Regions from separate parts of the Homo sapiens genome. Here regions 2 and 3 are each linked to region 1. Evidence: promoter capture Hi-C in human tissues and cell types (Jung and others, 2019). All regions are on one chromosome and are shown on one strand. The core of a region is centred on a gene start or on the middle of the fragment in contact, and the rest is flanking DNA. Distances in the headings are between cores, read along the strand shown.

Evidence for each region. Contacts are between HindIII fragments. The study calls those that stand out against the background at their distance.
Region 2: a contact is called between a fragment that was not itself captured here and the fragment with the promoter of GJA3 in region 1, in 2 of the 25 tissues and cell types used here (aorta and stomach).
Region 3: a fragment that was not itself captured here is called in contact with the fragment with the promoter of GJA3 in region 1 in 7 of the 25 tissues and cell types used here (IMR-90 fibroblasts, aorta, hippocampus and 4 more).

Annotation. Positions count from the first base shown.
Region 1 is chr13:20,159,406-20,163,078 of GRCh38, forward strand. It overlaps GJA3 (gap junction protein alpha 3), which reads right to left and starts at 1,647. Exons shown (of 2, transcript NM_021954.4): 1 at 1,485-1,647. RefSeq lists silencers at 1,378-1,467, 1,628-1,707, 1,938-2,297. The HindIII fragment of the contact is 27,118 bases long and covers 1-3,673 here.
Region 2 is chr13:20,046,411-20,050,083 of GRCh38, forward strand. The region is part of intron 12 of ZMYM2 (zinc finger MYM-type containing 2); the gene reads left to right. Among named protein-coding and RNA genes, the nearest start is that of LINC01072, 54 kb to the right of the region's middle. The HindIII fragment of the contact is 4,455 bases long and covers 1-3,673 here.
Region 3 is chr13:20,094,926-20,098,598 of GRCh38, forward strand. No RefSeq gene overlaps it. Among named protein-coding and RNA genes, the nearest start is that of LINC01072, 5.9 kb to the right of the region's middle. The HindIII fragment of the contact is 4,460 bases long and covers 1-3,673 here.

The sequences.
Region 1 (3,673 bases), core at 397-2,896:
GAGATCGCACCACTGCACTCCAGCCTGGGTGACAGAGCGAGACTCCATCTCAAAAAAAAAAAAAAAAAAAAAAAAAAAAAAGGCTGCGATAAACGTAATTTTTCGTTTCAAATGTAGTGTGTACACGTTATTTTAGCTAAGAGAAATGAATATAATAAGTTAAAATGTGAGTAACATTCAAGAAAACTGGGTCAAAAATATTTTCCTTATTGGCAAAAAATTTTGTTACCCGCCATTCTTTTAAGACAGCTTTCAGCCAGTTAACGGTTCCTGGTTAAGAAACAGTACTGTCTGATTTGTTAGAGTAGTACCGTTTCGTGAATTACTTTCCACTACAGCAACACATGCATTGCCCTTATGAGATGCTTATCTCGATATGAACCAAACTGCTGAGCAGGTGGAATCTGTGCCAAACTAGCTGATGTTTACTTTGAACACACTGATATTCGGAAAATAAATCCCTCTTTTTTCCTCTTTAATCTTTTAATGTTTGTCTTGCACATGGATGGACCGCCAGTGAAGTGATGCGCACATCATAAATCACCATGGTTTTTAATTCCTGGGTGATGAGACCCATAATTCGCTTGTCAGCTGTTTGTATAGAATCATTTTTAAATGGCATGTTTTGGAGACATCTTGATAAAATAAAAACTGGAGTTCTAAAGTTGCAGTCACATATTCACGAACCGAGAACTCTACATGGTAGGATGAATTTTGCTCACTAGTGTGGAGTCGGCAACAAAGCAAATGCAGCCGCGTCACTGCCGTTTGTTTTCTCAAGTCTCCTACGGGAAGGGGCTCGGACAGTGCTTTTCCACTCCTCTGCAAATTCCTTATAGTTGAACACATCATAACAAACATACAGGTCGAGAAATCTGGTCGTGGCATTAATAGCTACAGTGTTTCTTAAAAATAAAAAGTTTTAAAAAGTTTCTGAAAAAAATGTAGGCGAGCCAACCTTGTTTCTAAACAATCCCAACAGGACTTTTAGGAGCACGGCGATGCTGAATGCCCGTGGACGGCTGGGTGCGCGCCGTTAGCTGGCGCGGTGACATCTGCTTAGAGTTTTCAAGCATTTCAGCATCGCTAGGAGCCCTACAGCCTGACGGTCCGGGACAGCCCGGCTTCCTCCACCCGAGGGGGAAAACAACCCCAGGAAAACAACTTAAACTCGGCCTTGGACTGTCCATCAAGGGAAGCCAAACGAGGCGCTGCTCTCCAGACCTCCAGGAGCAAAGGAGGAAGATCAATTATTCCAAAAGTTTCTCACAAATTTCCCGAGCTCCCCACAACTTTTTGAAGAATCCTGAAAGAATCCTAGGGGGCTGGGAGCCGCACACGTGCCGGGGCTCGGCTTCCCAGCTCGGCAGTCTCAGCCCGCTGGGCTCGCCCGGCAGCTCCGCTGCGCCGCCGACCCGCCCGTCCCCGCCCCGCGCTGCCCTCGGCCCCTGTGCCTGGCCTCCGGGGCGCCCGGCCCGCCTTACCCCGCTCTGCCGCGGCGGCGACCCGGGTGCGTTCCTCCGGAGCAGGGCTCCCGGCCGCTCTGAAAAGAATTCCTTTCACACGTGCGGTGCTGCTTCACGCGTGCGCCCCGCGCCAGGGCCCGACCTCCCCGCCCTGATCGCCATCCCTGCAGCCCCAGTGTGCGCTGCGCCCGACGCCCCCAAGCTGCAGCTCAGGACGCCGCGCCACGCCCCCGCCGCCTCCGAACAGCCCCGCCCCGCGCGCTTCCCAGCACGCACACCTACCGCCCCCGCATCCCTACCCTGTACGCGCAGCCACAGCACTCGCCCGCGTCCGCATTCCACACCCTACCCCGCGCGCACGTCCATGCCTAGCGCCTGCATCCCCATCCCGCACCTGCGCGGGCCCTGGGGATGTGGACGCGGGGGCTCTTCCCTGCCGCCTACGCACTCCGGGGCATGCCCGCGCGGGACGTGAGAGGAGAGCCGAGGGCTGTTGGGGCGGGCCCGACCCGCTTGCGGGGCGCCCACCGCACGCAGATGCGCCAGCCCGCGCCCCGCTCGCGCCTGTCCTGGGCTTCGCAGGCCCGGCGAGGTAGCTGCTCTCCGGGCGCTCCCACGGTCGGAGGCGCGTGGGCGTCGGGCACCTAGGTCTCGCCCGCCTGCAGCCGCCTGGGGACGCGGGTTCCGGACGGCTGGCGCGGGGCGGGGCGGGGACCACCGAGCAGGAAGTCCCCGCGGAAGCGCCGCCGGGCACAGCGTGGGTGCTGTCGAGGAGTGGCGCCCGGGCGGGGCGGGAGGTTATAAATAGCGGCCGCCATCCTGCTTCTCTTCAGACACACTTAATTTAGCCGGCAGGCACACGGATGCTTATTTTTAAAAAAAGAACTTGTTTTATTGCGCTCGAGGTGACCGGGAAGGTGTCCCCGCGGGTCACTCGCTCCATCTGGTCCTGGAGACGAGATGCCAGGGCGAGGCCTAACCTGCCTGCTGGCGCCCAACGAAGATTTTAACGTTTTCTGTTCCCTTCGGGGTGGTTTTACCACGCTTGAGAGGGACGCCTACCGCGGAAGGCCGCGGACCGAGGGCGGCATCGCGTCCTTGTCTGCTGTCTGGGCACAGCCTAGAGAGGCCGCGGGTCCCCTCCCCGTCCCCCAAGGTCTGGAGTGGGGTTTGACCAGCCTGGGATATTAACAAATATCGGTGGACTGCATTTCGGTGATCATTCCACAAGCTGAAATGGCTTCAAAATCACCTTTATGAGTAATAAGTTTATTCCAGGAATGTGGCAAAATGCAAGTCTGATAGTTTTCGTGTCTTCATGGAGCAGCTTCCGTCGGCTGCCTTCGTTAGCGTTTAGATCTACTCGGATTAGCAGTTGGCTTGCCCTGAAAAATGCGTTTGTTCTGCTGAGATCTGAATTTAAAGTTATCCCAAGGAGGAAAAACTAAGCTCCTAAAGGCGCATCTAAAATATCTTCTCCCTTTGGGAACTTTGCGGTGTATGTATGGAGTAGGTAGTAGTTACGGAGACTTAGTTTTTAATTTTTAATTGAAAAATGCTACCTTTGAAGGTCTTAAAATACTTGAATATTTTTCTCATTTAAAACATTTTCTCTGAGAAGCACAGGAATAGTTTTTTTTTTTTTGTTGATCACAAAAGCACTAGGAATTGTTAATATTTGTAGTCTGTTTGCCAAATGCTATTATTGGTATTCTGAGGATAAAAATGGAAATATAATATTGTAATAATTTTAAAATTTTTATTAAAATATAGATTTTAAATTATATTATGTAATTCGAACAAATATTTTACATATATGTTCATACAAGCATTATTTACTATAGCCAAAAGGTGTCCATCAATGGATGAATGGATAAACAAAATGTATTGCATACCTACAGTGGAATATTATTCAGCCTTAAAAAGGGAGAGCCCCATCACATGCTACAACGTGGACGAACCTTGAGTACATTATGCTAAATGAAATAAGCCAGTCACAAAAGTCACAAATACTGTATGATTCCATTTACATGAGGTACCTACAGCAGTCAAAATCATAGAGACGGAAAGTAGAAGTGTGGTTACCAGCAGCTGGGGCAGTGGGAAACGGGAAGATAGAGTTTCATAGGTACGGAGTTTTAGTTTGGGAAGATAGAAATAGTTTTGGAAGCAGATGATGGTAATGGTTGCATAACAATGTGAATGTA
Region 2 (3,673 bases), core at 516-3,015, 110 kb before region 1:
AGGCATGGTGGTGCATGCCTGTAGTCCTGGCTCCTTGGGAGGCTGAAGTGGAAGGATCACTTGAGTTCAGGTTTTTGAGGTGACAGTGAGCTCTGATCACACCACTGCACTCTGGCCTGGGGGACACAGTAAGACTTTGTCTCTAAAAAAAAAAATATATATATATATATATGTGTGTGTGTGTGTGTGTGTGTGTGTATATATATGTGTATATATATGTGTATATATATGTGTACATATGTATATGTGTGTATATATATGTGTGTATATATGTATATATGTGTGTGTGTGTATATATATATTAAAGAATAGGGAAGTTTGGGATTTGTTTCCCTTTTTTTGGGAAGCAAAGGTACGTTCTTTGACAAAAGACCATGTTATTGTAGATGTCGTGTGTTCCACCTTGCTATGTTTTTTAAAAGATAGTTATTTCTGTTTTCATTTATGCAGAATTCAGTGATGAGGATTTAATGAAGCAGTGCATTTCAGAATATACAAGAAATACTTTAGTCAAATACCGGGTTACAATCATCTAGTTATGTTTAATGTCAGTATTCTGTACCTTAAATACATTATATATTCATGCCTTATTTTAAACAGATCTTTGTATAATATACATAATAGGTTATATATTATACTAATCTGAGGAATAAAGGTAAGAATATTTTTGTTAGATGGTAGAAATTTATAAAGCAAGTAGCAATGCTGATGTTTCTGTACGATCAATATGCAGCACAATCTTTGAAGTGTGAAGAGTTGTCTCTCTTCATTCATCCTTGGTTTTGCTGCCTGCAGCCATTATTGTAATCAAATGGTAACTTTATTCTCTGTGCTTTCTACTTGAGTCAGACTGTATTTTCTTATACCCCCCCATGCATTCCTTCTATTCACTGTTGCCATGGTATCATCTTGAAAATGTGGTAAACTAATTATGGGGTCCCCCCCTTTTATGGTTTATCTTTTTTTATTTAAATACTCACAAGTTTATATATTAGTACATTAAAACCTATGACCCTTACAAATCATTCCGGCTTATCAGAAAAATAAGCTTCAAGCCAAAGGAAAAAAAGTGCTTCATCACAGAAACTTAAAAATCAACAGCTAGCCAATCTGGCTATTATTTCATGTTTAGCCATGAACATTTCTTAAATGGTAGTACACACACATTGTATTTTTACCTTCTCTTACCTTTGCACTTTAGATTGAGAGACAACTACCTATAGTATAAATAACTTCTACTTTTTTGTTTATTTAAATTTAGTTTTATGCTTTAAAAATTGTTTTACTTGACAAGACACTGAATGAGCTGTGTTTTCTGGTCTATATCATGGTTTGCTTCTAGATTTAAAATAGAGATTTATTAAATTCTTTCTCTTCTAAATTGGAATAAGAAATCTGTGACATCATGCAACCAAAAAATGCTGAAAATAAAATTAACGTATTTTTCTTCTCCCAGATACCTTTTTAGAAAGAAGTAGATTTTACTTTTCCTCAAGTAAATGTTTCCAGGCGTAATGAAAAACCTGATAGTTCTTTTGATCTTTGTAAGTTTAAAAGTTTTTAAGAAAAAGAATTTAGTATTGTAATACAATAATAGCTAGAAGGTGTTTGATAAATTGGTAAAGATAATATTTCAAAAGGTCCACTGTTTCCCAAGAGTATCTCTATTAAGACCTGAGCTTTTCTTAAACTGTATTACTTTTCGATTGCACAGTTTTTTAACACAGGCTTTGATTTGTTTTCCAAAGAAGTAATGAATGGTGGCAATATTAAATTCTTAATACAAATGCCCTCTAATAGTCTTAACAGTATGATTTATGGGCTTTAAATTAATAATATTAGACTTGTATAATTTTTCTTTATAAACAGCTATATCCATTTTTTTTAAAATTTTTTTGAAATTATTTTTAGGAAAATAATATTTAATATTCAAATATTGCCTTAAATATATATTTTTGGTCACCGGAGAATTCCTATGCTTTGCATAGTACCCAATCACCTTTTATCCCTGCATTCTTTTTTAAAAAAAATTTGTAGCGAATCACTCCATTGTGCTCAGAAAGCTGTATTGAGAAGTCATAAAGGATTTCTGCTTAAAATGTCTGTAAAATACCCCTATCTTTTTCGTATTCATGGTTCTCCCCTGGAAAATTAGGTTTGTTTGGTGAAATAGGGAGCAAATGGATAGGAAAGTTTAAAAAGATGTATATATCAGTCAAAAATGAAAAGTTGAAACTATCCAAGACATGAAAGGGACTGGGTCAGGATAGGCTGAATGACCTTTTGCCAGTTATTGAAAATGAAATTTCTGTTTAGCTGATAGGTTGGATTAAGGTTTTTGAGTCAGAGTTTAGTACCTGGCTGTTACTTAGATTTGTTTGAACCTGTGACTTGTTTTTTTTTTTTTTTCCCCCTCCCTCTTAGTTTGCTATCCTTGATTTCACAATGACAAGAAAACCACAAAATAGATGATGCAGTATTTTTAAAACCAGAGACTTGTGTCCCATTTATTTCATTTTTTATGATGTCTTAATAGTTCTTTTTTGCAAATGGCTAGGGAATGCGGCTTAGAGTGGAGTTGTGTTGGTGTTGGTAAGGAATGATGGTCATTAATGATCTTTTTAAATTGGCCACCATATTTTAGCTGAATTCCAAACACTTCACTAGGAGTTTGCATGAGTGGATGTCAAAGAAACAAAAGTTCACAACCTCCAAAATTTTGATTATGGCATTAAAGTTGGAATTATTAGTATTGAGTTCTCACTTACTGTTTTTTCATGCTGAAAAAATACATGCCTATTTTGTTTACATTTGTAAATTGGTATTAATCTTGCCCCTTTTTTCTTTGGGTAGAGGGAAATTATCTAAATTTGTTTTGAACCTTTAAAAGAAGAAGGGAGCTTCAAGTGTTGATTCTATAAAAACCAAGTGTCTAATTGTAGAACGATGAAGTGATTCCATTGTTCAAATTCTTGAGGTGGAATGTGTTTAATTTTATGCCCTTGATCTTCCAAATTATTGTATAAACGGAAATACTACTACTAAGAGTCAGCATAGTACATGTAATGATTTGAATTAATACAGATTTCTGTTTTAAATGTTAAATTGAGAATCTTCTTGTAGCATTTTATTTGTATTGTGTTAGGGTATTTATTCTCTGCTCATTTATAGTAACTCATTTTGTCTTTATTGCTTAGGGTACAGGCTAAAGCCTAGGTTTTGAATTGGTTGTCTGCCTTTTGAATCCTATCTCTGCATTTTTAATATTTGACCTTAGTCAAGTCATTTAATCTTTCTAGATCTTAGTTTGCAGTACCCATTTTGCAGGGCTGTTGTGAAGGTTTATAGAGAGTAGATACAATGGGTTTGGCTTTTATTTCAGGTTCTCAGTGAACAAGGTAGTCAGGCTGTAACTCTACTTTTGGTTCCTGCATTGTTCGGAATCAGTGAATAAAGTATTAAGCTTCCATTTCCTTCCTTTATGCTTTGTCTTTTCTTTGAGCATAAATTATAAAAAGGGAAAAAGAAACTGAAAGAAAGAAAAGAAACCCTGGAACAATTCTATGGTTATTTCGAAGAACAGTCTCGCTGGTGAGAATTTAACAAAGGGACTTTTTTATTATTGAGTGAAAATATGATCTTGGTTGATATTAAGTGCTATTGTTACTGAGAT
Region 3 (3,673 bases), core at 388-2,887, 64 kb before region 1:
ATCGCTATCATGTCATTTCACAAGAAACACAAAACCAGCTAATTCAATAGCAGAATCCAACTCCACTGTGCATTAACAGTGGGACACCCAGAGAACACTTTAATTGCTTTGACATGGTGAGTTCGCACTGTGAAAATAAGTTGTTGGTGTGGCAATGTGCATGACACTGGAAACAGTGATGTGAAGCCCTCACTGCAGTGGGCTAAGCAGCAGCACAGAGGTGAGAGTGCCACAGGCTGCTCCGTCATAGCTCCTCAGCCTTGTCCTTGTAGCAAAATAGCCACCAAAGGCCATAAATAAGTGAAAAAGTGTGCCTGTGTTTTAATACAGCCTTATTCATGGAAATATTTGAATGTTACATGCCACAAAATATTTTTTAAAATGTCTCCATTAAAAAATGCATAAACCATCCTTAGCTAGTGTGCCTCGTAGAAATGGGTCGTAGGTAAGACTTGGTCTGCAGTCTGAAGCTTGCCAATTCCTACTTAAGTTGCTAACCTTGCTTTCTACTTCAATTTCTTTTAAATGCAATTTTATTTATTTATTTTTGAGACTGAGTCTTGCTCTGTCGCCCTGGTTGGGGTGTAGTGGCGCAATCTCGGCTCGCTGCAACTTCTGCCTCCGGGGTTCAAGCAATTCTCATGCCTCAGTGTCCTGAGTAGCTGGGATGACAGGCACGTGTCACCACGCCTGGCTAATTTTTGTATTTTTAGTAGAGACAGGGTTTCACCATGTTGGCCAGGCTGGTCTTGACCTCGTGACCTCAACTGATCGGCCTTCCTCGGCTTCCCAAAGTGCTGGGATTACAGGCGTGAGCCACCGTGCCCAGCCTAAGTACAATTTTAAAGCAATCAAAAGAGACTTCCATTGATCCCACCATCACTTCTACCCACCTGCAAGCATACTGATTGTTCGCTTTAGCACAAAAGCTGCTGTTGATCTGATCATCTTTAAAACAACCCTTTTTTAACTCTACTTCCCTCCACTTCATTTCTTTGCTTTCCTTTAGAGCAGAATTCCTCAAAAGTTGTCTAGCCTTATGGTAATTCCTGTTTTCTCTCAGATATCAAGAAGGTTTTTGTCCCAAATCCCACTGACTACTCTTACAAATGCCACTCATGACCTCCATGTTAAATCCAGTGGGTAATTCTTTTTTTGTTGTTTTTTGAGACAGTGTTTTGCTGTGTCACTCACCCAGGCTGGAGTGCAGTAGTGCGCAGCCTGGACCTCCGAGACTCAAGCGATCCTCCTGCCTCAGCCTTCTGAGTAGCTAGGACTAACAGGTGCACTCCACCATGCTTGGCTAATTTTTGTATTTTTTGTAGAAAAGGGGTTTCACCATGTTTCCCAGGCTGGTCTTGAACTCCTGAGCTCCAGCAATCCTCCTACCTCAGCCTCCCAAAGTGCTGGGCTTACAGGAGTGAACCACCATGCCCCGCCCCATAGGTAATTCTTAATCATCGTATTACTTAGCATTTTAAACTGCAGCGCATGACTTCCTTTATGAAACATATTTTTAAACTTAGTTGCCTGTATTCTATGGTCTCCTGATTTTTCTCCTACTTCATATGGCTCTTCTCAGTATTCTTTGCTAATACCATCCTTAGCCCCTAACCTTTTAAAGTCAGGATGTCCAGAGCTCAGTTCTTGAGCCTCTTATCTAACTTAAATCTTTGGGGTTCTTAGGTAGTCTCAACGGCTTTAAAAGCCACCAATACACTGAAAACTCTACTACATGTATTGACTGTATATCTCCAACTTCGGGAATAGATGAATAATGACCTTATTTTGTTCTAGTGTTTTAGCTGTATTAACTCAGTTAGTACAACTACCCTGTAAGCCAAAGGGCAGAAAACCTTTCTATTAAGGGCCAGAGAGTAACTATTTGAGGCTTTGTGAGCTTCCTAATGTGCCCCGAATTCCTTCTGGTGGGTTTTTGGTCTCGCTGACTTCAAGAATGAAGCCGCAGACCTCGTGGTTAGTGTTACAGCTCTTAAAGGTGGCGCATCCGAGTTTATGCCTTCAAATGTTCAGATGTGTCCGGAGTTTCTTCTTTCCGGTGAGTTCGCAGTCTCGCTGACTTCAGGAGTGAAGCCCTAGACCCTGGTGGTGCGTGTTACAGCTCATAAAGGTAGTAAGGACCCAAAGGGTAAGCACCAGTAAGATTTATTGTGAAGAGGAAAAGAACTATGATTCCACACCATGGAAATGGACCCGAGAAGTTGCGGCGGGTGGGGGTGGGGGTGGGGGGGCAGGCAGGTGGGCGGTGGGTGGGGGGGGGTGGCCAGCTTTTATTCCCTTATTTGGCTCTGCCCATGTCCTGCTGATTGGTCCATTTTACAGAGCACTGATTGGTCCATTTTGCAGAGTGCTGACTGGTCCACTTTACAGAGTGCTGATTGGTCCATTTTACAGACTGCTGATTGGTGCAGTTACAATCCTTTAGCTAGACACAGATGCTGATTGGTACATTTACAATCCTTCAGCTAGACACGAAAGTTCTCCAAGTCCCCACCCGACCCAGAAGCCCAGCTGGCTTCACCTCTTACTAACATTTTGTTGCATGTTCTTTTATGAGTTTTTTTGCATGCTTTACAACCGTTTAAAATGTGAAAACCATTCTTAGCTCATAGGCCATACATAAACAGGCCATGGGCCAGATTTGCACTGATGGCTGTGGTGTGCTGACCCCTGCCATAAGCTATTACAGAGTAGTGTGTTATTATCCCCGTTTTACATATGGAGACACTGAGGCACAGAGTTCAAATAACTTGCCCACACTCATCAGCTAGCAAATGAAACGAGGGTTCCAACAGGCAGTCTGGGCTCCAAGTCTGTGTGCCTAATCGCCACACTGCTTAGAAAGTCAAAATACGTTTCGGTAAAAAGGAAAGCTAACCAAAAGCTAGCAATTTATGCCCCAGAACGCCAAAAAGTCTTAGGAATTGGAAGCATCAGACACTCTAAAGATCAGATATAGGCGATTGTTTAAAAGTCTGCCAGAAAAACCATGTAGTCCTTTCCGAGATCCTCCCCCCAGCCTTAGCAGTCATTTCCCTACACCTAGGAGTTGAGGTTTAGTCTCTGGAAAAAGTGCGGTGGAGAAACCTGGGACTCAGAGAGGCCAGGCAAGACTGAGGCTGGCGGGTTGCATGCCAGTCTACAGCTGAAAGTGAGAGCCCTACTGCTTGGCACCCAGGATGCTTGAGGCCAGGCTTGCAGAAGATCTGACGATTCCTCTCTGGGGAGTTAAACCAGCCCAGGACAAATGACAGTGATACCCACAGCTGCTGACATCACGATTCTGCACAATGACCTTACAGTGAATGCCAGCTGTCAGAAAACCCTCCTCAGGTCCACAGAGCTCCCTTTCAGGGGTTTGCACTCTAAGTAAGCATGGACTACTTAGACATTTGAAGAAAGCTTTCAACATGAAAAAGAATCAAAACAAGAAGGAAATGGGGAAAAAAGTGCTACGATGTAGGAAGCAAAGGAAAACTTTAATTCGATTAAAAAAAAGATAAACATATCCAGGAAGTAAGAATCAGAGGCTATGTAAAAGGAATATTAAGAAAGACTTGGGAAAATTCAAAATATGATAGCAGAAATAAAATATTCAGTCAAAAGATTGGATAACAAATTTAAGAAAATCTCAAAGTGGAGCAGAAAGATA